Linked DNA regions of Homo sapiens: regions 1, 2, 3, 4 and 6 are each linked to region 5. Evidence: promoter capture Hi-C in 16 types of primary human blood cells and fetal thymus (Javierre and others, 2016). All regions are on one chromosome and are shown on one strand. The core of a region is centred on a gene start or on the middle of the fragment in contact, and the rest is flanking DNA. Distances in the headings are between cores, read along the strand shown.

What was found. Contacts are between HindIII fragments. The CHiCAGO score rates a contact against its expected background, and 5 or more counts as called.
Region 1: a fragment that was not itself captured here is called in contact with the fragment with the promoter of RSL24D1 in region 5 in 2 of 17 cell types (total CD8 T cells and activated CD4 T cells); the score reaches 6.1 in total CD8 T cells.
Region 2: a fragment that was not itself captured here is called in contact with the fragment with the promoter of RSL24D1 in region 5 in 2 of 17 cell types (activated CD4 T cells and total CD8 T cells); the score reaches 5.9 in activated CD4 T cells.
Region 3: a fragment that was not itself captured here is called in contact with the fragment with the promoter of RSL24D1 in region 5 in 4 of 17 cell types (naive CD4 T cells, non-activated CD4 T cells, naive CD8 T cells and 1 more); the score reaches 12.0 in naive CD4 T cells.
Region 4: a contact is called between a fragment that was not itself captured here and the fragment with the promoter of RSL24D1 in region 5, in 2 of 17 cell types (total B cells and endothelial precursors). The highest score is 6.9, in total B cells.
Region 6: a contact is called between the fragment with the promoter of ONECUT1 here and the fragment with the promoter of RSL24D1 in region 5, in 12 of 17 cell types (total B cells, M0 macrophages, M2 macrophages and 9 more). The highest score is 25.5, in total B cells.

The regions. Positions count from the first base shown.
Region 1 is chr15:52,560,174-52,564,322 of GRCh38, reverse strand. The region is part of intron 1 of ARPP19 (cAMP regulated phosphoprotein 19); the gene reads left to right. Among named protein-coding and RNA genes, the nearest start is that of ARPP19, 6.8 kb to the left of the region's middle. The HindIII fragment of the contact is 1,535 bases long and covers 1,469-3,003 here.
Region 2 is chr15:52,672,396-52,676,932 of GRCh38, reverse strand. All of the region lies in intron 2 of ATOSA (atos homolog A), which reads left to right. Among named protein-coding and RNA genes, the nearest start is that of ATOSA, 4.7 kb to the left of the region's middle. The HindIII fragment of the contact is 293 bases long and covers 2,117-2,409 here.
Region 3 is chr15:57,706,657-57,711,127 of GRCh38, reverse strand. It overlaps GCOM1 (GCOM1, MYZAP-POLR2M combined locus), which reads right to left. Exons shown (of 17, transcript NR_104371.3): 15 at 1,770-2,414. POLR2M (RNA polymerase II subunit M) reads right to left here and starts at 4,414. Exons shown (of 4, transcript NM_015532.5): 1 at 4,173-4,414; 2 at 1,770-2,414. The coding sequence starts at 4,285. RefSeq lists a silencer at 3,930-3,979 and an enhancer at 4,300-4,471. The HindIII fragment of the contact is 4,237 bases long and covers 1-3,804 here.
Region 4 is chr15:52,770,588-52,774,668 of GRCh38, reverse strand. All of the region lies in intron 1 of ONECUT1 (one cut homeobox 1), which reads left to right. Among named protein-coding and RNA genes, the nearest start is that of ONECUT1, 18 kb to the left of the region's middle. The HindIII fragment of the contact is 3,114 bases long and covers 1-2,893 here.
Region 5 is chr15:55,194,554-55,199,021 of GRCh38, reverse strand. It overlaps RSL24D1 (ribosomal L24 domain containing 1), which reads left to right and starts at 2,081. Exons shown (of 6, transcript NM_016304.3): 1 at 2,081-2,212. The coding sequence starts at 2,132. RefSeq lists enhancers at 2,117-2,276, 2,070-2,961. The HindIII fragment of the contact is 1,416 bases long and covers 680-2,095 here.
Region 6 is chr15:52,787,556-52,792,114 of GRCh38, reverse strand. It overlaps ONECUT1 (one cut homeobox 1), which reads left to right and starts at 1,779. Exons shown (of 2, transcript NM_004498.4): 1 at 1,779-3,335. The coding sequence starts at 2,231. LOC105370824 (a long non-coding RNA gene) reads right to left here and starts at 1,685. Exons shown (of 2, transcript XR_001751550.2): 1 at 1-1,685. RefSeq lists enhancers at 1-723, 724-1,492, 1,489-1,783 and a silencer at 1,672-1,741. The HindIII fragment of the contact is 8,870 bases long and covers 1,322-4,559 here.

The DNA.
Region 1 (4,149 bases), core at 987-3,486, 2.6 Mb after region 5:
TCCCACCTCAGCCTCCAAGTAGCTGGGACTGCAGGTGTGAGCAACCGCCTCATCCATGTTTTCTATTTCTATTCAGAGTGAACACAACATGCTCCCTTGGTCTCTGCAACCATCGATTCCTAACAGCCTAGAGGTAAACCTCAGAAAAGTTTTTAAATGTTTCTCTTAGCCGTCTTAGCAGTTTGCGATACAACAGTTTGTTAGGGTTGCTTCTTTTGTTTGTGCAAGACTTGAATACTTAACTTCTAATCCAGAAGCTGTGTTTACTATAACATAAAATATTAAAGATGAGCTGATGGTGAAATCCTCAAGTGTGAAGAAAGTTTCTTAGCTTTATAGCTTTATGGAAACAAGTACATTGTATTTTTTCATTCAGATGAATGAACTTTTATTGAACATTCATTAAATGCTAGGCACTAGGCAAACAAAGACTTAATAGAATGACAACAGTAATTTTCCATAGAGCTTGATACAGTATTGGTACCTTCCTGGCAGTATCCCAAAGGATTTGTTGGCTTTCATTAATCCTTTCTAGTTATTCGTCAATCAGTGCATCAGTCAACATGTTGCTGAGCAGATAGAGGAGAATTTGCTTAGAGTGGTCAGATTTTTATTGCTGACGTTGCTGTATAACCCTCCTCTGCCGAAGGCTGAAAAGTGGTATCAGTCATTGAGACATAATTCTGCTCAGTGTATAATAGACTACAAAATAATCCTTAGTTATTTGAGTGTCCTTTTTACGTGTATATATTTATAACTTATACCCCACCTATTCACAGAAAGGATTTCTGATGTATTTCAGTGGTACAATTCACAAAAATGCACATGCCGAGACAATAACTATTATTAAAAATACTGTTCTTAAGATTTTTGTTTTTGTTTTTTGGATACATACATCGTATACATGTATCTGTGTGTAAACATGTATCTGTGTTACCATATCCTGGGGTTCCTTTCCCAGCTTGTAGCCAATAGCCAAAAGTTCAGAATTCTGCCTTCTGCGGACCCTATTATCAATTTAGAAGCTACTTACCTAAGTAAATCCATTTACATTACAGCATCTATTTTTAAAATGTAGTAAAATTGCTGTGTAACACAAAGGCTTCTTGGAGAATGAAACTTCAAAACCAGATTTGAATCATAAAAAATACTTCTTCACGGTGGCTCACACCTGTAATCCCAGCACTTTGGGAGGCAGAGGCAGATGGATCACGAGGTCAGGAGTTCAAGACCAGCGTGGGCAAGATGGTGAAACCCTGTCTGTACTAAAAATACAAAAATCAGCCAGGTGCGGTGATGGGCACCTGTAATCCCAGCTACTCGGGAGGCTGAGGCAGGAGAATCACTTGAACCCAGCGTGGGGAGGGGTGGAGGTTGCAGTGAGCCGAGATCGTGCCACCACACTCCAGCCTGGGCGACAGAGTGAGACTCTGTCTCAAAAAAAAAAAAAAAAAAAACTTCTTAAGCTTGCCATATCCACCCCCTTTGTTGGCCCTTTCTATTGTATCTTTTTCATTAATTTCTGCTTTTTATTTCTCCATTTTCTTTGGGCTCCTTTCTTTGTCTAACTTCTTAAATTGGATGCATCGCTCATTGAGATTTAGCTTTCTTCTCTGATATAAGCCCTTGAGAGATACTTGCTATACCTGACAAGTTTTGGTATGTGTAGGGTTTTGTTTGTTTGTTTTTAAAGAAACAGGGTCTCACTCTGTCTCCCAGGGTAGGCTTAAGTGACCCTCCCACCTCAGCCTCCCAAGCAGCCAGGACTATAGGCATATAAGCATCTACCACGACACCTATCTAATTTTTAAATTTTTTTTGTAAAGGCCAAGGTCTTACTGTGTTGCCCGGGTAGGTCTAGAACTCCTATTTTTTTTAAATACTCGTGCTTTCTTTTTTAACCAGGAATTATTTAGAAGTATGTTTTTAATTTCTAAATATTAGAGATTTATAATTTTTTTGTTGTTACTGACTTTAATGAATTGCAGTCATAGATGGTGGTCTGGAAGAAAATAGTTAAGATTTGCTTTATGGCCTAGTATTAGTCAGTTTTTCCATTTGTGCTGTGGAAGACTATGCATTCCCTAATTGTTAGATGTAAAATTAAAATCAAGTATCTTAACTACTTTATCTTTTATAGCTATCAATAATTGAGGAAGCTGTGTTGAATTCCATAGTAGTGGACTTGTCAGTTGCTCCCTATAGTTCTGTCAGTTTTTGCTTTGTATATTTTCATGCCATTTTATTAGTGGCACAGTGGCTCACGCCTGCAGTCCCAGCACTTTGGGAGGCCAAGGCAGGAGGATTGCTTGAGGCCAGGAGTTCTAGACCAGCCTGGGCAACATAGGAAGACCATGTATCTTAATAAAAAAAAAAAAAAAAAAAAAAGTAGGTGCACTGCACTAGCTCTGTTTTGGTAAGGATTTTTTGCCTGGTATGTTACCACCACCACCCACCCTCAGTCTTTTTACTTTCAACCTATGTCCTTGTTTTTAGATTTTTTTAAATGTGTACTCCACAAGTGGCTAGGTTTTTTTTTTTTCCTTAATCCAGCCACTGGATTTAAATGGACAGTCTGTTGCTTCAGTATGGTTATTGTGGTTATTAACATATTGGGATTTGTTTCTCCTTATGTTTGGTTTCTTTTTGGTATTTAAAATTTTTTTTATTTTTCTTCCTTTCTTGCTCTCCCCAACACTCCTTTTTATTTCTGCTATTTAATTGGTTCCCCTTGAAATTTTTCATGCATTCTTAACTAAACAAGATGTAAAAATTAAGATTATAAACCCTTTTCTAAATTATACAGGACCATAGAACACTTAAACTAAAAATATGGTACTGTTATAGTATTCTTTTCTTTTTTAACTCCACATGATAAAGATATTAAAATTACAATATTGACTTGTTATCAGTATATGTGTATGTATATACCAATTTTCTTTGTTTAGTAATAGTCATTCCTGTCCTTTATCCCTTACATCCTAACCTATTTAACCCAAAGCTTGATTAGTTTATGATTTAATCTTTCTGTGATTCTTTTTGGAAAAAATAAACAAATAAATAACTATTGGCTTATCTCCCCTTTGTTTTCATTCTAGCTTAAGTAAATGTTTAGGAATTCCCTTGAGGTCCAGAAACGTGGAGTCACATCAAATTGTGTTCTATTTTGCATTTTTGAACATGACTGTGGATAAATCGCTTATTTTACCTGCTTTTATCAGTGTCCTGTTGGGAGACAGGAGCAGAAACCACTTTGCATGTTTTTAAAAAGGAAGGAATATGATTTTTAGGGAATAAGGTTACAAATTATTAGAAGGAATAGAGGAACAAAAGGGAGGAAGATGGTGTTTCCAGAGGTAAGGATTACAGAAAGCCTTTGACCCTGCAAGGATGAGTACTGTTCAGAGTCCACCATCGTCTGCCTCCCTTGTCGTGTAGCTGCTACTAGAGCCCCTGTTTATCTGCCATATGTCCCTCTGTAGGAGCTCACAGGGGCGACTGCTGTCTGCTGTTGGTGGTGGCATCACCAGGAGCAGAATGGATTCTTTCTCTCATGCCTTTTAATCTGGCATAGATGCCGTTGACAGAACCTAATAAGAACTCAGTAACTGTCAGAATATTAATGCATGTCCAAGCACTTGAACTAACTTATCATTAAGGTCCTAGAACTGCCTAGCTCTGTAGAATGTTTCTGTAGGATTCATGAAAACTTTTGTGGAAGTCTTAATGGTGTTTACCACATTTAAAAATCTAGATTAGGTCATCTTTTCCCCCCTGTTAAATCCAACTGAAATTCTGAATCCAGTTAGGAAGTTGCAGCTAGCAGGGGCTTTCAGTTGTGCTATGTATTTGGCAAGAAAGTTCAAGAATCGGCTTGTTTTTTTCTAAGACATGTTATAAATTCATTCTAAATATAAATGACATTTGCAGCTCATAGATGCTGTTTTACCCAAACATTTTTTAATTTAATTAAGCATGCTTAATATGATATATCAATGTATTCCTTATTAAGAAAACAAGGGAATGCGGCTGGGCCCAGTGGCTCATGCCTGTGATCCAGCACTTTGGGAGGCCGAGGCGGGCAGATGACCTGGGGTCAGGAGTTCGAGACCAGCCTGGCCAACATGGCAAAAAAAAAAGAAAAAGAAA
Region 2 (4,537 bases), core at 1,014-3,513, 2.5 Mb after region 5:
CTCCTGAGCAGGTTCCTTGTGTAGAATGCCAAGTTTAGATTTTTAGATTACATCAATCACTTTGGAAAAATGGCACCAAGGTTAGTAATTGATTCTCAGAATAAACAAGCAAATAAAATCAAAGTCACTATTTATTTTGAATTGTTGTGAAAAGTTGCTTTACAGTCATAAGCAGTTTTAAAAATAGTATTTGCAGCCAAAACTAGTGTTAAACACAATAAAATGTTTAGTTACGTACTGATATAGATTTTTAGGGGAAACAAATTTATTCATCAAGATTTCCAAAGAAGTTTTCACCTTAAAAATTGTAGCTTTCTTTAGCATTCTCAGGTAAAGATGATGGGATTGTGAGTTTAGTATTGTGATTATATTCCATAATAATAACATAAACCTTTAGACCCATGGCTTTTTTTTTCTTTTACTAAAACCAGTGTAAGTAATCTTTTACTTAGCAAACTAGTACAGAAATATTGAAATAAGCTTTTCACAAACGTACTTACCCTTACTGTGCGCAATGTAATGTTGTATTTTCTATTCTATTTCACGTTTTGAAAAATTGCTGTCACCACCCATTGAATTGATTTCTTCACCAATTAATGGGTCATGATGACCTGCAATTTGAAAGGCAGAGTTATGGACAACTCTTAACGAGAAAACAGTTACACTTCATTTTTTTTTTTAAACTACATTGGTGTCCAAAGAACTATCCTATATAAATGAATTTTCTGGATAATTGAAACTTTTTAAACGTCAAAATATTTTTAGTTGTAATCATGATATGTGGAGACATTTAAAAAATGTTCACGCTTCTGGTTTGAGATTTTTTTGTCTCTAGTTTAAACCATCTCAGCCTATCTTTTTTTATTCTGATTTTTATGTTCCCTGGCTGTCAACAGTTTTTGTTGTTAATATATTTATCCTTGTCACCTTTTAATTTTCCTGCTTTTAGTCTCTGAGCTAGATAATTAGATAACCGTACTTAACACTAAGTTTTCTCTCTTTTTTTTTCTTTTTCTTTTTTTTTTTTGAGACGGAGTCTCGCTCTGTCGCCCAGGCTGGAGTGCAGTGGCGCAATCTCCGCTCACTGCAAGCTCCGCCTCCCGGGTTCACGCCATTCTCCTGCCTCAGCCTTCGGTAGCTGGGATTACAGGCGCCCGCCTCCACGCCCGGCTAATTTTTTGTATTTTTAGTAGAGACAGGGTTTCACCGTGTAAGCCAGGATAGTCTCGATCTCCTGAGCTCGTGATCCGCCCGCCTCGGCCTCCCAGTGTGCTGGGATTACAGGCGTGAGCCACCGCGCCCGGCCTAACACTAAGTTTTCTATAAGATGAACATAAATAGGAGAACTTCTCAGATGCTCATTCAGAGTGTGAGTAAAGTGTGGATTTTAATGTAGAGACTCAGATTATAGTTTTGTGAAAGACAGCTGTGCTTCAAAGAGTTAAAGTTTCTAAATAAATACAATAGCCTCTTATCGTACATGATTGGGTGTGGTAGTTGGTTGGCTAACTGTAAAAGTTTAAGGTGGGGGTCAGGAAAAATGCCTTAATTCTTTTTCTATTGGCTGTTTTTATGGAAGGTGTGGGGAGCATTGGTCAATTCTGCTCCCTACAGCCTCCATAAAAACAAACTGATAGCCAATAGAAAAAAATTATCTGAAGGTCAGGAGTTTCTACTGTACTTTGAAATAAGATGTTATGGTATAGCATGATAGATTTCACAATAGTCGATAGTATTTTACTGTACGATAGTATTTTACTGTACTGTAAAAAAAATTAATTTTAAGCAATAATATAACATTACTTGGGTAACACTGCCAAAGATGAGTCTTAGATGTTGTCATTAGCAGACCTGTGTTTTTATACTTGTTCCATTACTTGCTTGCTCTCTAATCTTCATCACATAATCTCTGAGAGTCTCAGTTTCCTTGTCTGTAAAATGGGAATAATTCCAACTTCTCACAGTTAGAATGAAATATGACCGTGCTTGGCACATAGCAGATATTAAATAAATAATATCGTTTATTATGTTAAATAAACATTACAAATGCTTATATATTGGTTATATAAGCTTATATATAAGCATTACAAATGCTTATATACTGGTTATATAAGCTTATATATAAGCATTACAAATGCTTATATATTGGTCAATTACAAGATATACTCAACAAAGGTAAATAAATAATGAAATGTTTAATAACCTAATGCTATTTTGTTCTGTTTTGCATTGATAGTGTTCAAACTGCTAAGGCTCGAGCAGATTAATAATTTTTTAATATATAGTTATCTGAGAAAATATAAAAGCTACAGAAGGATACTTGCAGTATATGTATAATGTATTTATATTGTCATTTGCTATTACAATTATGGCTTCTATATGTAGAGGATGACATGGGTGGACTAAGCTTTCTGGAATAATTAGATTTTTAAGTGATGTTAACAGCTGACTAGAGCTGGGCAGCTGGAAAATTTAATGTTATTCCACCTTTGACTCAAGGATGTACAAGTTTGGACCTGGTTCTAGACCTGTGTGTATATTGAATACCTGGTGTTTCAAGAGAAGTCTAAGGTGTGGTCCACGGCCTGTTGCGGTGGCTCATGCCTGTGATCCCAGCACTTTGGGAGCCCGAGGAGGGTTGATTGCTTAGAGCTTAGAAGTTCGAGACCACCCTGGGCAACATAACAAGACCCTATCTCTATTTAAAAATAAATAAAATGTGGTCTTAGTGTAGAGGTAATTAAAAACATATTAGGTTATGTTCTAAATGTATTTCTAATTTTGTATTTTTAATATCTGAGCTTAATCAAAACTGCTATGAAAGATTAAGACCTATAAAATAAATCATAAATTAGTAATTTAAATCTACTGTTTTAATTCATATTTAAAAACATTGTAGGCTGTTGATCTTTAAGTTAAAACTAGTAGTGCAAAATCTGTTCCACAAACAAAACACCACACTATTTTGTGGTTTTTGTTTTTGAGGTTAAAATAGAGAAGTGCTTAGTTTTTTCCTCCATTTGGCTATATTACAAATTTAGACATTAGCCTTAGAATTTCAGTGGCTTATGAACTTAACTATAGCATAATGCAACCCTGTTAACCTCAAACAATTCACTCCTGGGCAGGTGAAATAGGAAAGAAGTGTTAAGGACTAGAAAAATGTAGCAAAGCAATTAGGTGCATTGCTTGCTAAGAATAGTTCATTGTTAGTTGATGTAAATCAAACAAAAGAAATGGCAGATGTTGGAGAAGAAATACTGACTAGATTAAATAAAGCGGCCTTTTGCTAAATTCCCAGGTAGAGGTGGTCATGATAGTATGAGTAGCAACAGCTAATACTTGTTCATACTATGTGCCAGGCACTGTCTTAAGTACTTCACATATATAACTCATTTAATCCTCACAGATACTCAAGGAAATAGATGCTATTGTCATCTCTGTTTTATGGATAAACGAAACTGAGTCATAGAGAAGTTTGGTAACTTACCCAAGGTTACACAGCTAATAAAAGGGCAAGCTCAAATGTGAAGTGAACTTGAGCATATGCTCTTAAGCTCCCTGACTGGTAGCAGTAAGTAATGTTAAAATACCATAAGATTTTGGGACCAAAGTGGTTTAAAAATACTTGAGGAAAACTCCAAACAGGTATTTGGTAAGTATTGTGATCTTGGAAAGCTGCTTGTCCTCTCTGCCTCAGCTTTATCTTTACAATAGGGAAAGTAATAGTACCTCAGCTCATGGTTATTTTGAGGATTAAATAAGTTAATGTGTGTAATATGCTTAAAACAGTGGCTGGCACTTAGCATTCAAATGTAAACTGCTATTATTTTTGGACATTTTCTAAAGAAGAAACCAGTCAGTTAGTGAAAGCTGAGGAAGACAAAAGGGGGCTAATTCAGCTGCATGTTTTGTATATTCAGTGTGATCACAAGTTAAAAGCTGGCTACTGTTGTTCTTTCATCCATTTATGTTGATGAGTCTTGGCATCAGTAGCTGTCAAATAATCAATGGCTTGATACAACTTCTGAGATTCAGATACTAAAGGGGTTGACGTAGAGATACCCCATCTATGTTTTTGCCTGTCATCCAGTAAGAAGGAAATGATTCAGTGGACTAAACCCTGTCATTTCTTTGAAGAATGAGAAAAAAAAGATAATTGGAAGGCAGAACTGAAAGGCAAATGTGTATATAAGGAGAGTGACTTAAAAATTGATTTTCTCTTCAAGAACTGAAGAAACCCATGGGGTCTGAGCCTTCTGCATTGTGAACAAATATAGAAAAAAATTAGTTGTTAAAGAATATTTATATTCTTTTGCCTTTCTCGCCTTTGGATCTAATTATGAAAATGTTTTCACCCTTTTTGAGGCTGGGGATTTTAAAAACTGGAAATATTAAACTCAGACTAACAATACTGGTTTTTTTTTTTTTGGATAATGAAAAGGCAAAATTGTAGTACTTGGAAACAGTACTTCTTAGTAGGTAAACCAAAGTCAATTTGTTAATAGTTAATTCTATCTTTGCTCAAATAGGTGAA
Region 3 (4,471 bases), core at 437-2,936, 2.5 Mb before region 5:
CTATTAGGGAATATGGAAATCACCTTGGAAAGAAACTGCAGTTCCACTTTGTACATCATTAAGCTGAGGTACCTGGGAACACCCAAGTGATCAAGTTTCATGGTTAATTGGCTATGCAAACCTAAAGTTCTGGGAAGATCTGGGATAGAGGTGCACAGGGGTCAGCCTCCAGCATCCAGGTGATACATGAAGCCAGAAGAGTATGCAGAAGGAAGAGCAGAAAGGACCCAAAGGACACTACCTGACCCCACCTTCCAACCTCCAAGCCACCTCTCACACGGAACCCTCTCAATCCCTACCTGTCTATGGCCTAAGGACTCCTCAAAGCCCTGCCTTTCCTGTTCTCCTCTAACTTATACAGGAGGCTCCCTGTCTCTTAAACTTCCTGAATTCTTGGTAGCCCTCTTCACTATTCCCTTACCTCTCTCCCACTCCCAGCTAAATGACCATAATACAGAACTGGGATTAATGTATTCTTTGTTTTATTTATTGACTAGATGATGGTTCTAGTTTTCTAAAATGTCATCCTGGAAGTGAAGAAAGATACCCCACTGTACACAAGAGAGTACTTGATCACGTTAATGTAGTATAATCCTGATTTTCTATACAGCAGAAATAAAATGTTTTGAGGTTAAAATGAATGCTGGGGTAGAATTAAAGTCTAACAAAAAAGAAGCATGTTTTAGATACTTTTCACTAGAGGTTTTCTGTTTTTCAAAGAAAGGTAGTAGTGATTTAACTTTGATGTTACATACTTGTAAATACAATATAGGAAGAAGGTACCAGTTACCTGAGTTGAATGTTACATTTGCTGCAAGTAAATAGCAATTATTTTCAAAAAGATTTTACTTTTCCTGAAATTTCAGAAACAAATTTATGGCAAGGAACTGATAAGCAGAGTTTTTGCCTATCCTGCCTGAATCTATTTTCACAGTTTTTCAAACCTCTTCTCAGCTTCCTTCCCCCTGAAACTGTTATTATTATGTAGCTTAACTCTTTTCCAAGTGTGTAAACCTTGGGTCCTCATGTAGCTCTTAAACTCCTTGAAGAACATGGTATTGTATTACATTACACATGTATACATTACAGCCATGTTTTTAAACTTGAGATTTAACATCAAAAAAGGCAAAGGAGTTTTAAGAATCTTGACTTAATTGTGTCCCCACAACACCTGCTGCTTGCTTACATACAGTGAGCATGCAAATAATTTCTGCTGGAAAGCCCATCAGCTCCTGCAATTGCTTTACCCTTAGTTCACAGACTAATCAAAGAGAGTACACTTTGATAGTACACTAATCAAAGCTGTACACTAAAAAATGGTTCTGAAAAAAAGAAGTCATAATAAATTCTCTCCAACTCTGTGTTTATTATGAAATACTGGCTAAGCATCCTAAAATTTAACACTCCCCCATGTGCTTTAAAAGACCTTGTCGATTATTTGGTTTCAAAACTAAATATTTTTCAACATGAATCTTCTACTCCGGCCAGGCTGGTCTCAGTGTTGCCACAACATGTTATTTCCTAACTACAAGTAGTTCTCATACAAAGCCCACGGAACTTAGAGCATTCTCCTGACTTATTTAAGAGAAAAGGTCTTATTATATTGCCCAAGCTGGTCTACAACTCCTGGACTCAAAGCTGTCTTCCCACCTCAGCCTCCTGAGTAGCCTGGGACTACAGGCAAGCACCACCACACCCAGTTTCTCGTAAATTTTTGAGTTTAACAAATATCACGTTCCTGTTACAGGCCTGTTTCCGAGGGTACTTACACATTGGTTTTAAATTTACGCAGCTGGGGCACTGGGTTTTTGGCTCGCATTTCTAGCACTTCCATGTAATGAGGTTTCTTCTCAGTCCCACTGGAAAGGCCTGTCAAGTTCTTAGTACTTGCGTTTTCTTCTGACTGTTGTTCACCTTGGTCCGCAATGGTGATCCTCTGTAACCTGTCAATAAACAGGTTGTCAAAGCTGCTGGAAGTATCTTCCGCTTGACTTGAAACACGATGCCGCGGGTGATGCTCACTAGCTTCAGATGAAGGTGGTACCCTGTCTCTATTGCTGGAAGCTGGGCCCTTATTCACTGTGTACTCAACCTCTGAAGTCTCTTCATCACCTTCAAGAGTAGGACGTCCAAGTCCCTGGTTTTGTGAGGTTTGAGATGACTTGATGTTATCTACAGAGGAACATCCAGGAACTAGTGATGAAGTATCAAGTATCGGGTCAGAATTCTGGGCCTTATCTGTACCCACATCAACTTCTGCAATTGCTTTTTGCCTTAGCTTACAGTCTAAACTAACAGGGTTAAACAGTTCACTTTTTCTTCTAACTTCTTCACATTCTGCAATGGCAGCTTTCAGTTTGGCAAAAGAGTCAAAGATCTTTTTACCTTTGTCGGGCAATTTGCAAATGAATTTTCTGTCAAATGGAAAAGAATACTATTACATTACAGCCATTTTTTTAACTTGAGATATAACATTAAAAAGGCAAGGCATTATCTTCAAAGAAAGAAAAGCTGATTTTTAAGTCAAATATCTGATTTCTAACTGCCCCAAAACAAGAATAAAACAATTAAAATGGTCATTATCCAAATAGCCCAAAAAACAAGGGAATGCAGGAAGAATAGGGAATATATGCCTCATTTGTCTCAGCAAATTAGAATTTCAGCAAAAGTATTTTAAGCATATAATAATCACATAAGACATTCCAAGAACCAGCAGTCATTAAAGTGCAATCTCCAAAATTTGGGGATGGGGTGGAGTGTGGGGATGGGCCTATTAGGTCAAAACTACTTTCATAATAATACTAAGATATTATTTCCCTCTCATTTTCTCGCATGGGTACAGTGGAGTTTTCCAGAGGCTACATGGCATGTGATGACATCATTGTTCTAGAATAGAATGTGTGCTTGTGTATGCTTATGTTTTAAAGACTTCAGACGTATTTCTGATAAGTAAATACATTTCGCTAGATACAACACATAAAATAGCTCTTTGGGATGTCAATAATTCTTAAAGTATAACGGAGTCCTGAGACCAAAAAGTTAATTCACTGCTATACATTCAAAACCTATTCTCACAAGGTCAAAACACATGTCTTGATCCCAACCAATTATTTATTTGTCCCTTTTGCTGGATGACAGAGTTCCTTTTCTGATTCCCTTTTCTTTAACTATACAATAAATGGAAAGAAAAAATTACACCTTAAGTCCTCTGTTCTTTTTGACACTACATTCATCCCCACAATTTCAACTATTAACAACACTCTACAGCTGAAATTCCTGTTTTCTGTATTTTTCCAGGGTTCTCTCTTTCTTGAGCCTCATGACTACTTCTCCAGCTTTTAAGTGTTTGGTTTTCGATTAACCAAATGTCTGTCCTGCTCTCCTCTCAACTCTGCACACCCTAAGTAAAATCAACCTTGGATCTATTCCTCTCCCTGAATTTTCCTATTTTTGCTAGTGGTCTTCCATATAGATTGGAAACTTCAGCCATCTCTGTCAACTGCATTTAAATTAGTCCATGCTTAAAAGTTCTCCCAATCCCTTCCTAGCTCACTTTCTTACAAGTGTCTCGTGGGAAGTCTCTCTGAAAATATCCTTCTACTGTCTTCTGCTTTTTATTCCTTCAAACCATCTTTTGCAACAAGCTGCTGAACAAAGCTGCCTAAAAAACAAAATCACTTTTATTACGTGGCTCCCTTGCTAAAATCCGTTCAACCAGCCAGCTGAATGAGGGTCGAACTTTCCCGGCCTAATAAACCCCTCTTCATATCCCACTCTTCCCATTTCCTACGGTTCCTGTAAGCTTAGAATCCAGAGATGAAGCTGACAATCTGTTATGGGTTAGGGGTGCGGGCGACAAAAGGGTTTAGAAAGCAGACTCATGGAACCACCACAGTCCCCGGGTAAATAAAACCGACCAGGGGCTACTAACTCCCTGCAACGCCAGGTAGCCGTTCAATCCGAGCTATCCTCGCAGGCATACGTGCCTGGCCAGGAAGAGGCACGGCTCTGCCGCAGCAAGCCCTCCGTCCACTCGCCCGTAGGACTGAAGCGAATGTGACTGAGTCAAAGTCACCTTCCAGGGAAGGGAACAGAGTGCGGGAGGGGAGGGGAGCGCCCAGGGAGCTCGAGCTGAAGGAGCCTGGCGGAGACTCCGCGGGACCCCAGCTTACTCGTTGCGCAAAAGTCTCTCCTGGCGCTTCAACATTTCCCGCAGCTCCACCAAACTCCGCTGCGCCAAGTCCTCGGGAGCTTGGGGCTCGAAGCCGCGGGGCAGCGAGCACATTCTGCGCGGGCTGAGGCTGGCGCGGCGGCGGGCACTCGGCTTCCTCGGCAGGCCCCGCTACTAGCGCCGGATCCGCGGACGGCGGTGACTCCGGGGCACGAGCGGGAGTCGCCATTTTCCCGGAAGAACGGGGTCTTCTTCGAGCCGAATCGAGCTTTATTGAAATTCCGGAAACAAACACGGACT
Region 4 (4,081 bases), core at 87-2,586, 2.4 Mb after region 5:
TTCAAGCACCTTGTATCTTATTTCTTAATTTATGTTTTAATTTCAATGCTTTTTTAAAAGGTAACTTCTGGCCAGGTGCGGTGGCTCACGCCTGTTATCCCAGCACTTTGGGAGGGCGAGGTGGGAGGATCACGTGAGGTCAGGATTTCAAGACCAGCCTAAGCAACATGGTGAAACCCCGTCTCTACTAAAAATACAAAATTAGCTGGGCATGGTGGCGCTTGCCTGTAGTCCCAGCTATTTGGGAGGCTGAGGCAGGAGAATCACTTGAACCCTGGAGGCGGAGGTTGCAATGAGCCAAGATCAAGCCATTGCACTCCAGCTTGGGCAACAAGAGCGAAACTCTGTCTCAAAAAATAAATAAATAAATAAATAAATAACTTCATTTCTTGTTGCAAATTATTAGTATTATATACATCCTTTGAGCTGGAGCTGCAGGGTAAAACACTAATAAAGAAAAAAAATAAAAGAATCACCCACAGCACCCCACACAGATAACCCTCTGTGTGTGTGTGTGTGTGTGTGTGTGTGTGTGTGTGTGTGTGTATCCTTCCAATCTTTTCCCTATGGGATGGTACATACTACTACTTTGTAACTTTTCAAACTAAAAAATCCCATTATTAAATTTATGGTGGAGTATTTGAAAACACATAAAAGAATAATGGAGACAATAAAAAATCTCTGGTAATTCCATCATCCCTGTCCTTTCCCAAATATATCATGAATAGCATTCATTTATTCAACATATAGATAGAGAGAGAGGATATTTGCAAGAGCCTTCCTTCTCTCTCATTATCCATTTATGATTGGAGTGGACTCAGGCATTCCTTTTTTTTCCAGTGGCTTACAATTCATTACTGTACTTAACTATTTTGGTGCTCAAATTGTCCCAGATTTCACTGACGAGAGCCCTTTCCCTCTGACTCCTGTGTCCCTATGACAATGCTTACATTTTTTTTTAACTTTCTGGCATCATAAGATGTTCCAAGCTCATTTGGTACATATTCTGCCCCAATCCTAGAATGTGCCACTTCTTTGATGAGCCCTGGTTTATCCTGGTGGGGAAACATGTTAGAGTCCAAGACAGCCTAGGCACTAAGTGTGCTCATGGCTTTAGGGTGACTTTTGGTTTTCTACCCTCTCAGACAAAGCCAGGAAACAGATACATATACATTTATTTACACACACATACAAATATGTGTATACACATCATACATACATAATATCCATGTACGCATAAACATGCTTATATACGTGCTCATGTACGTATTTCTAAAATCATTAGTTCATACCAGTACCTCCACCTCCAATTGCAATATATCCTCAGAGGATTTTTCCCTGCCTTCCCCCATTCCCTATTTATATGTCTTTTCCTGCACAGTGGGAACTCTGGTACCCAGTAATCTACCTCTCTCTCTCTCTCTTTCTCTCTCTCTGTCTCTCTCACACACACATTTACTCATTTGCTCAATCCTGTAATACATCTAAAATCATTTCAAAATTGCTTTGCCCATACCCATAAAATAAACAAACCTGCTTAAAAATGTTTTAGTTAAGATTCATTTGCAGTTCTCTCTCCCCACCCCACCTGCCATACCCACGCCCCAGCATCACTTGGGAGCTTGTTAGAAATCCTATGGAATCAGAAACTCTGGCTAGAAACTCTGGCTTGTCACGTTTTAACAAGCCCTGGAAGTGATTCTAATGCATGTTACAGCTTGATAAGCACACGCCAAAATATGCAGCTTGGGTTTGTTATATGCGTATGTGTGTGTGCACTCATGCCACGTCTTATTATATAAAATAACACTTTAAACATCCTCTAAATGTAACAACCCTAAAACAAGCCCAGTACAAACTAATAGGGTTCCTGTCACAGCATGGGTGTGGAGCTGCAGAAATTAAAACAAAAACAACAAAAACCCTCCAGTTCTTTAGTTCATCTCTTGGAGCCAGCCCGGTGGATAATAAGGAGTGGCACAAAAACCTTGTTCTTCCTCTTTCTGGGCATGAGATACACTTACTTGCCCACAGGGATGCCCTTCAGTCCCACAGCTCCCTCCCTTCCATGTTAGGCACTTGGCAGTAAATTCAGACAAGTCAAGATGAAGGAGGCCCTGTCAATTAGCGCTAAAAAGCTCACAGCCATTACTCTGATCTTTTCCTCCATTCTCACCCAACTTCCTCTTTCATCATAATCACAGAACAAAACCCTCTGCCTCCAATGAACTCCGTGAACAAACTTCACACACATCTCGCTTTTTTTTTTTTTTTTTAGATGGAGTCTCGCTCTGTCGCCCAGGCTGGAGTGCAGTGGCACGATCTTGGCTCACTGCAACCTCTGCATCCCGGGTTCAAGCGATTCTCCTGCCTCAGCCTCCCAAGTAGCTGGGACTACAGGTGTGTGCCACAACGCCCAGCTAATTTTTTGTATTTTTAGTAGAGACGGGGTTTCACTGTGTTAGCCAGGATGGTCTCGATCTCCTGACCTCATGATCCACCCGCCTCGGCCTCCCAAAGTGCTGGGATTACAGGCGTGAGCCACCGCACCCGGCCACATCTCGCTTTTTTTTCCTCTGCCAGGTTGTCTATGACAATCAATGCAGCTGGGTTTTACAAGTACAAGTTCACTGTGGGGAGAGAGGAGGGTTACCTGGGCCCAGTCCCACAGAAAGATCCCACAAAGCAGGCTTTCCTGGACCTGAACTCACAGGAATTACCTGGTATTCTTCTCAAAGCACAGATTCCCAGGCCACTCTTAAGATTCTGATTTAGTCAGCCTGTGTTTTTGCCAAAGTATGGAGTAATTCTCTTGAGCTTGGAAAGGTCTAAAATACTGTCCTAGGAGCAAGTGGCTCTCCAATTTATTGGGCATCCAAATTACTGAGAAGCTTGTTTAAAATATCTGCCTGTGATGGGTGCACCAAAATCTCACAAATCACCACTAAAGAACTTACTCATGTAACCAAACACCACCTGTACCTCAATAACCTATGGAACAAAAATGAAAAAAAAAAATTTAGTGATTATCAAAATTACATCTGTTAATACATGCTCATTGTAAAAAAAAACAGACATTACTTAAAGATATAAATAAGAATGCAAACAACATCTATAATCTCACCATTTAGGAAGAAACACAATTTATATGTTGGTATACATTCTTCTAAACTTTTTTCCATAGATATATACACAGACACACACACACACACACACACACACACACACACACTTGCTTTTTATGCAAAAATGAGATGATTCTATCTATGCAGTTTTGTCATCTGCTTGTCCTTTTTGTAAGATCGGATGAATAGTTTTCCACTGCAATAAATATACATCTACATCATCATTCTTAATGGCTATAGAATTTTCTACTATATTTATTTGTTCATTTATTCAATAAATGTTCATATATAGACCAAGCACTGAGCTAGATTCTGGGGATGTAGTCATAGGTAAGCAAGTCTTTGCACACACAAATTTACCATAATTCATTGATTAACTCCCTATAGTTTTCACTACTATAAAAGGATCTATGATGAATATGTGTACTTATATTTTTGAGCACTTGCCTGAATATAGCCTTAGAATAAATTCCTAGAAGTGTTAATTACTAGATCAAAAGTAAATATATTTTAATATTGATATAAATGCAGATCATCTTTCAGAACAGTTGTTCCAATTGATGTTCCCATCAAAAGTGCCTATTGCTCCTTATTCTTGTCAACATTGAGGATTAGTAAGGTTTTAAATCTTTGCCAAGCTCAGACAAAAAATTAAAATAAATGTTCTCTCTCTCTCTCTCTCATAAACTGACACAGAGTTCATATCCTTTGCCCTGGATGTTCTTTTATTTCTGAGTGATTTGTATAAAGAAATTATTGTGTATTTTACAACTGCTTCTCAATTTTTGTCTTTGGATTTGATTTGTGGTATTTTTAAGCCATATTAAAGTTCATTTTTTTCCACGTTAAAAAATTAATTAAAAAACAAAATATCGGCTTGTGAATCTCACTCTCAGAGACAGTAGGTATAGGATGAGGTTCCAAAATGTGCATTGTGAACAAGCCGCCCCTTTGTG
Region 5 (4,468 bases), core at 832-3,331:
CTTGGTGGGAGATAATTGAATCATGGGGCCAGTTTCCCCTACACTGTTCTCATGATAGTGCATAAGTCTCACGAGATCTGATTATTTTAAAGGGGTTTCGCCTTTCATTTGGTTTTCATTCTCTTTGCCTGCTGCCATCCATGTAAGACCTGACTTGCTCCTCCTCGGCTTCTGCTGTGATTGTGAGGTGTCCCCAGCCATAAAGAGTCCATTAAACCTCTTTCCTGTATAAATTGCCTAGTCTAGGGTATGTCTTTATCAGCAGCATGAAAACTAATAGAAAGGGAGAGGAGGTAAACCCAGTTATTCAAAAAATGACAATAATTTAAATATTTGGGCAGTGGCACATTAACAAATAAAACGATGGAACTGAGTCCAGAAATGGAGCCATAGATGTGACATTATGAGTGAGTGGGGGAAAGGATGCTTTATCAACATACAGCACTGAGGGAAAGACACTGGAGTCTTATGTCATTTATACTTAAATTCCAGACGAGTTGAAAATTCAAATGCAAAAAAATGAAACTACAAAACATAAGAGAAAACATTTTGAAAAACAATTTTGGAGTGAGAAGTGCAGTTTAAAGGAAAGTACCAAATCCAAAATCATAAAAAAATTGGATAAATCTGAATATATAAACAACATATTTCTGCATGGAAAAATACCATGAGCAAAGCTTAAAACATTGATAGGGAAATAATTTCTAAATGCATGTCAGCAAAGGACTAACCTTAACGTGTAAAGTGCTGTTGAAAATCAACGAAAGAATAGAAAACTGCGTAGGACCTGAACAGGCAATTCACAGAAAAAAGCTGAAAAACATTGTGAAAGATTCTTAACATCATTTGTAATTAAATTCAAGTTGAAATAATAATAAGATAAATTTTCATCTCAGGTTGGCAAAGATCACTTTTCACAGCGGGGTAGTGAAACAGACATCTTATTTGTTGATGCTGAGTGTTAATTGGTAAAAACTTTTGGAAGGCAATTTAGTATTATCTGCCAAATTTTAAAACTATTTATCTATATCCAGCTCCTCTGATCCAGCAGTTCTACATAAACCCTCTCCTGAAAAAGCGTACCAACAGATACTTATTATATCAAAAGATAAGAATGCCCATCGATTAGTGACCAATTAAAATACTTTCATACAATGGCATATATATATGAAAAAGAATGTTAAATACCCTTTTACAGTAAAATATGTATCAAATGCCTATTATGTGCCAGGGACTGTTCTAGATACTGGGATGTAGTTGTAAACCAAACGAACTGAAATCCCTGCCCCTCATGGAGCTCACATTCCAATGAAGGGATACAAGGTAACAGCAAGATGCAGAAAAGAGTAAATAGCATATTAACTAGTATTATAAAGAAGAGGACGTAGAGACAGGCAAACACACAAATATACATGTTTGCCTATGCACAGAAAAGCTCTGGCAGGTAATAAATGGAACTGTTTTGCCCCTGGGGAGGAAGACCGCAGGTCTAGGGAGGGAGTCGTAGTTTCCGGCGAAAATATTTGTTTACTACATATGCATATTAATTAAAATGGGGGGGAGGCGGATAACACGATTTTATATTTAAAAAAATTGCTGGTAAAGTCCTTGGAGCATCAGCAACTCAACCGTTTTCATTGCAATGTTCGAAGCAACGCTGGATTGCAGGGTCTTCGCCGCTTACACCCTGCAAATCACTGTGGGACGAGAATCGAGGGCTGGTCTAGGGCAGGCAGTAGACAAATGAGTTAAGAGAGTGCTCTCGAGAGCACTCCGAGGCAAAGCACAAACCAAAGATACATAATACTTGCATAAATGCCGACACACAGAGAGAAAAAACTAGGCGCTGTGAGAGCAAGTTCACAAGGTGGCGCAGAACCACATTTCCCCAAAGTAACAGCGAACAGGTCTAGTCTGCAGCTCTGCGCCTGCGTCAAACGGCAGCGCATTTGACCACACGGCCGCCGGAGGCACAGTCGTGTTCGCATCTGGTCTAACAGACCCGCGAGAACGAAGGACGCTTGCCTTTTTCCGGTCGGGGAAGGGGGAAGAAGGTAACTTCCGGTGACGGGGTTGCATCACTTCCTCTCAAGCTTGGCGTTTGTTTGGTGGGGTTACACGCGGGTTCAACATGCGTATCGAAAAGTGTTATTTCTGTTCGGGGCCCATCTATCCTGGACACGGCATGATGTTCGTCCGCAACGATTGCAAGGTAAGGCGGTCGACACCAGTTCTTGCTTCAGCCTAGCTCCCGCGGTTCCTGGGCGCGGCGGCTCGGTGCTGGGTGCTTCTGCGTCTGCCGTGTTTGGCCCGGGTTCCTCCCGTTGTTCCCCTGGGAGGGTGGCTTAACTGGGCCTCCGTTCTCAACGTTCCGCTTCGGGGGTTTCTCCTTGCCCGTCTTCCGAGCGGCGCTGGCCACCACGCCACCCTTGGGTGGCGTTGGCAGCGAGGAACTTCAGGAGCGATCCCAGCTAGCGCCTACCAGGAATCTTGGATGTCTGTGAGGGCTGTTTGGCCACTCATGTACTTGGGCCAAATTCTTGAATCCAGTAAACTTTGTTGAGTGTATACCCTGTCAGGCATTACACTAAGGTCCATACTAAAGTGTAGAGGTTGATGGAAGTGTTCCGTATTGCTTAATGGTAGAGTTATGTATTAAGTTACTGCAGGTGAGTTGGGGAGGGTCCTGTACGGAAAGACTCAGCATAGAGGTGATATTTATCTTGGATCCTGAATTTTGCGGAAGAAAGCGGAGGGGGCCTTCTAAGTGGAAGGAAAGTGAACATTTTGAGAAAAGGCAGAGAACGGAGCAAATACATTTGTTTGAGGAAGTGACTGGATTGTAAATGATGATAGAGCCTTGGGCGTAGGGCTACAAGTATAATAAGTCTGTAAACGTAAATAATAAATATGAGTCCTAGTTGTGAAAGACGTTTTGAATGGTACATGAATTTGTCCTGTCATTACAGAATGAATCCCGTTCCTCTCTTTCTCAGAGAAACACATTGTTTCTCAGAATTTGATCTCTTACGTTTGCTTCTGAATTACTGGGCGTTTACAGATTCCTGGTTTTCACCAGATCTATTGAGTTGGAATCTTTGGGGGAGGGGAAGAGGGTCTAAGAATCTGTATATTAAGGTGAATTTGACGTGCTAAATAATTACAAGTCTGACTTCTTCACCTTATATCTCTGTAACAGATCAAAGATATTGACCTCATTAATTAGATCCAAGGGATTCAGCTGAAAGTGACGGACCAAAGCCATGTTTGATAACGTAAAAGAACCTAGAAGATTTTGAATACTTGCTCTCAGGAACATGATAAGAAGTTTATAAAAATGAACCAAAAGATTGCCAGGTTGGGGTCTAATTCAGAGTAGGCAGTATGGTTTTATACATGATGTCGTTACGATTTTGTGATTTTCGTCCAGGATGCTTGTCGGCTGGATATTGGAATTAGAACAACAGATCGTGAGAACTGTCAAGACCTGGGTATTGATTTGGTAGACACAGTGGAAGTTAAGTTGATGAAGAATAAGGACAGTGTTGAGTTGGTTGGGAGTCACCAGTGGATCCAGAAGAGAGTTGTTGGAGGAAATAAAAGATAGAGGGCCTGAAGCACTAACAAAGAACAAGTATCTCATCTTTTTTTATGCTTGATTTCCAAACCTAAATCTCCTGAGCTCCAAATCTGAATTTTCCATTGGATGTACCTAACAGTAGGTACAGTGGGCCTACTGAAAGAGAATTCCTTAGTACCTCAGATCTTTTTGCTCTGTGAATTAATACCACTCTTAAGTGCCCGGATAGTTTTGCTAGAAACATGAGAGTCGTCTGAATCTTTTCACCTTTTGTATCTAGTTATCAAGTCTTACCTATCCTGCCTCTGCAAAGATAGTGGTGTCTTTGCCTTCTTTCTACTTTCCTGTCCTAGTTCAGATTAGGCTCTTACCACTTTTATAGCCTCTTATCTAGCCTTTTTTTTTTTTTTTTTTTTTGAGACAGGGTCTCACTGTCTATTGCCCAGGCTGGAGTGCAGATGTGTGATCATGGCTCTCTGCAGCCTCAGTCTCCTGTACTTAAGCAGTCCTCCCTCCTCAGCATGCTGAGTAGCTGGGACTACAGGTGTGCACCACCATGCCCAATATCAAAAAAATTTTTTGTAGAGACGGGGAGATTAACATTGTGTGTGTGTGTGTGTGTGTGTGTGTGTGTGTGTAGAGACAGAGGCTTGCTATGTTTCCCAGGCTTTAACTAGTCTTTCTGCCTTTATTCTCTTAGTTTCTGAGACTGTTATTAATAGAAACTTCACCTTTTACTCTTCTTAGGCATAAATGGGTTAAGGGTAGAATTAATGCTAATTCTCTATATTTGCACATACTTTGCAAACAGGGAAAATACATTCTTAATGAGGGCTTAATAAATGTTGAATTAGTGGAATAAGAAAGGTTTGAAGAACTTTGAGTCCA
Region 6 (4,559 bases), core at 530-3,029, 2.4 Mb after region 5:
CTCCATATGCATTGTTTGGACAGGATGGGAGTGCCTCTGGTGATAAAACCAGCTAGATTAACCAGTCCCAGGACATGGCCGCCTTCAAGGAAGTCACGTTGACTGTATCCACTGAACTTGACCTACCTGGATTAGGATGTTGCCCTGGTGGTAGCAGGGACCTGGGCAAAGAGATAGGCCTACTCATGCCTGGGCCGGTGGGAACTTTTCCCAAAGGGTTGGCCAGCCCAAACTTTTGCCTTGGAAACCCAACTACCACCACTACCACAGCCTTGGCCTCTCTAAGGGCTTGGGAGCATTTGCAGTGGAAACACCACGGGTGGGCTGCAGTTCGGTGCCCCAGCAAGCAAACCTACAGTCTGAGTCTGGCCCAGCACAGGCTACACACACTTTATTCCATATCTGAGTCCAGATACCCCGGCTCTGAGAGGCTATTCTCATTGTAACCACCGCTTGCCTGGGGCTGAGGCTCGGCGCTGACCCGGCCATAACTGCCACGGGCTGGACAATGGGCACATCTGTCCTTTCTCTGAGGGATGAAAGCACCTAAGCGGACACGGCTCTGCCTTTTGTTGCGGATTTTTTTTCTTTCTTTTGTAAATGAAAGAAAGCCGCGGCATGTGGCGGCCGGGTGTACGTCTCAAACTGGGGGCCTCCGCACACGTCCCCACCAGGCCCAAAGACCAGGTTCGATTCCAGATTGGAGCGTGACTGTGGGAAGGGCGAAATTACTCCCGAAGCTGAATTGATTTTCAAATCTGGAGGCGTCTCTCGGGGACGCCGGGAAAAGGGCGTCCCTAGGGGCCAAGCGGAGACCCGCGCGCCGGCGTCCACCCTGTCTGCGTCAGTACTTCTGGAAAGCAACCGCCTCCGGGTGCTTTAGCAGGAGGGCCTTGGGAGTAACCGCAGGGACGGCCCGAGCCTCCACGGCCCCACCAGCACCCGGAAGTTAACATGGGTACCCTCCAGGGCACTCCCTCCGCTCTCCCTCGCCCCCCTCCACAGGCCGAGTCATCGGCGAAGCGGACGCACAGCCTTAATTATGAGCTGAGCGGGAGAAGGAGCCAGGCGGCGGGGGACAGTGAGGTATGGCCCGAACTGGGATTCTTGGCACTGATTACTCCTCTCCCCAGGGCATGGATGAGAAAGGGTGGGCAAGTATGTATCTGGGAGGACGAAGGGTGCCGGGTCAACGGCCGCCAAACGGACCCAGCCCTTTAAGCAATCTGCACCCCACCCCACCCCAACCCCCATCCCCCAATAGGCCGTGAATTCAAGGGTGGGAAAGCGCACTCCCAGCAGCCCCCCGGGAAATAAAGCTTAGTGGGCTAGAGCCGAAGGGGTGATGACACAGTCCCCAGCTCCCCGGGCAAGCTGCACCGGGAAGCAGCAACTGGAGAGAGAGGGGCGATGTCTCCAAGCACAGCACTCCAGCCGCTAGAAGCCCGACACGAGCGTCCCCGGGCTGGGAGGACAGAGCCCACTCAAGCAAGGGAGGCGAGCGAGCCAGGCGCGAGTCTCCTGGGATTGCAGCGGCGGCCCCAGGTCGCGCTCTGCGCCAATCTTTCGCACGTGCCCGCAGCTCCCTGGCCATCCAGCGCCGCAGGGAAGGCGCTGGGCCCCCTCCTTCATTTGTACCGGGACGCCAAGGGCCTGGCGCGCCGCGACCTAGGGGGCGGGGGCGGGCCTCGCGCATGCGCGCTGCGCCTGGCGGGCGTGAGGGCGGGCCGCTGCGGCGGCGGCGGCGGCGGCTACCGAACCGCGGCCACAGAGTCTGTAACAGTAACAGAGCCATGGCTCAAGCTGGCCAGCGGGGCGGGCAGGCAGCAGACGCGGCAGGCGCGCGGGCCGCGGCAGGGGAGCCGGAGACCTCAGAATTTTAAGAAAGAGAGGGGCGAGAGGTGGCCGAGGCGGGCGGGCTGGGGCACTGCGCTCTCCCAACGGCGCGGATCCTCTTTGGAAATTAATATTAAAAAAAAAAAAGCCGAGGACGCAGAGGGGAAGGTGGGGGGTAAGAGGGAAGGCGAGACACACACACACACACACACGCACACGCACACACGGACACACACACACGGAGAGAGAGAGAGAGAGAGACAGAGCCCCACAGTGAGAGGAAGGAAGGCAACAGTCGCCAGCAGCCGATGTGAAGACCGGACTCCGTGCGCCCCTCGCCGCCTCTGCCTGGCCACATCGATGTTGTGTCCGCCGCCTGCTCGCCCGGATCACGATGAACGCGCAGCTGACCATGGAAGCGATCGGCGAGCTGCACGGGGTGAGCCATGAGCCGGTGCCCGCCCCTGCCGACCTGCTGGGCGGCAGCCCCCACGCGCGCAGCTCCGTGGCGCACCGCGGCAGCCACCTGCCCCCCGCGCACCCGCGCTCCATGGGCATGGCGTCCCTGCTGGACGGCGGCAGCGGCGGCGGAGATTACCACCACCACCACCGGGCCCCTGAGCACAGCCTGGCCGGCCCCCTGCATCCCACCATGACCATGGCCTGCGAGACTCCCCCAGGTATGAGCATGCCCACCACCTACACCACCTTGACCCCTCTGCAGCCGCTGCCTCCCATCTCCACAGTCTCGGACAAGTTCCCCCACCATCACCACCACCACCATCACCACCACCACCCGCACCACCACCAGCGCCTGGCGGGCAACGTGAGCGGTAGCTTCACGCTCATGCGGGATGAGCGCGGGCTGGCCTCCATGAATAACCTCTATACCCCCTACCACAAGGACGTGGCCGGCATGGGCCAGAGCCTCTCGCCCCTCTCCAGCTCCGGTCTGGGCAGCATCCACAACTCCCAGCAAGGGCTCCCCCACTATGCCCACCCGGGGGCCGCCATGCCCACCGACAAGATGCTCACCCCCAACGGCTTCGAAGCCCACCACCCGGCCATGCTCGGCCGCCACGGGGAGCAGCACCTCACGCCCACCTCGGCCGGCATGGTGCCCATCAACGGCCTTCCTCCGCACCATCCCCACGCCCACCTGAACGCCCAGGGCCACGGGCAACTCCTGGGCACAGCCCGGGAGCCCAACCCTTCGGTGACCGGCGCGCAGGTCAGCAATGGAAGTAATTCAGGGCAGATGGAAGAGATCAATACCAAAGAGGTGGCGCAGCGTATCACCACCGAGCTCAAGCGCTACAGCATCCCACAGGCCATCTTCGCGCAGAGGGTGCTCTGCCGCTCCCAGGGGACCCTCTCGGACCTGCTGCGCAACCCCAAACCCTGGAGCAAACTCAAATCCGGCCGGGAGACCTTCCGGAGGATGTGGAAGTGGCTGCAGGAGCCGGAGTTCCAGCGCATGTCCGCGCTCCGCTTAGCAGGTGAGCCGGCCAAGGAGCTGGGCGCGCGGGAGATAAGGTACACGAAAGCCGAAGGGACCAAAGGAGGAAGGGTAGGAGAGAGGGCTGGGTGCGCTTCATCCCGCCCGCCCCTACCCCTAGAAGGGGGACTCCCTGTGCCTGGAAGGGCCAGCACAGGGCTGTGGGAGCAAATTGCCTACTCCAGGGCTCAGGGTGTTGGGCTGTGGAAGGCTCCGAGAGCTAAGCGGCCGGGCCTCGGCGACTGAAGAGGCTCATTTGCGCTCAGGGACAGCGAGGGAAGCTCGTACGGCCTGAGGCGGAGAGAAATCCCCGCACCTGGTGAGACACTCTGCGCCACCTCTCAGTTCAGCGATCCGGGTTTGGGAAGAGGGATGCAACGCGTGCGTGGAATCGCACGCAAATGTTCCTCGCAGGTACCTCTGACACATCCCAGGCGCTGGGCTGGAGCGTGCCGGAGCAGCGTCGATGTTTGGCCGAACTGGCTGCTGTGACCCCCTCCCGCGCTCATTCTTTTGGCGCTGGCTGGGGTGACCTCAATCTAAGAGTATGGGCAAAAAGTTTCAGAGCCATTGGGCGGTGGGTGTGTAGCACAGACGAGTTGTAAGGGTTAGGACGCTCTCTGCGCATGGAATTGGCTGTGGAAAGGAGAGGGAGGCTGACCGTCCCAAGGTCCCAGTGAGAGCTGCAAAGCAATAGCCATGTCCTGGGACCGACTCCGCTGCCGACTCCCTGAGGACTTTGCATTTTGTTTTATTATTCCTCTTCGCGATTTTCGTCTGAATCCCCGTGCGGGAGGGGGGTTTGGGGATGAGAGTGTGTAAATGACCCCCAAGTCTAGGAGCAGAGGTCTCCTGCCCGAAACCCCAAGCCCCAGGTGTTTCTGAGTTCAGCTGGAAGCTCTCCTTGGCGCAGCGCAGACACCGCGCCTGGCTCCCCGAGACCGCGGATAGGCAGAGAAGAAAGCTGAGCCCAGCCCGAACCCCACCGGGGATTTCAGGAGGATTCGGCGACCCTTGAGGGTAGAGAACATGAGGGGAGGTAGAGCTAAGGACAGCGGAGGGTGGCCTGGGTTTGATGAGATCCGGCCGGCGGTTGCCAAGTTGATTGACTCCTGGTCCATGCCCCCTCCCCCCCCACTCCCCCACCCCCCACCTCCACCTCCATCTCAGCCCAGCGCCCAGGCCTGAGCCTTGGCGAAGAGAAAAGGTAAAAGCCGGAATGAGG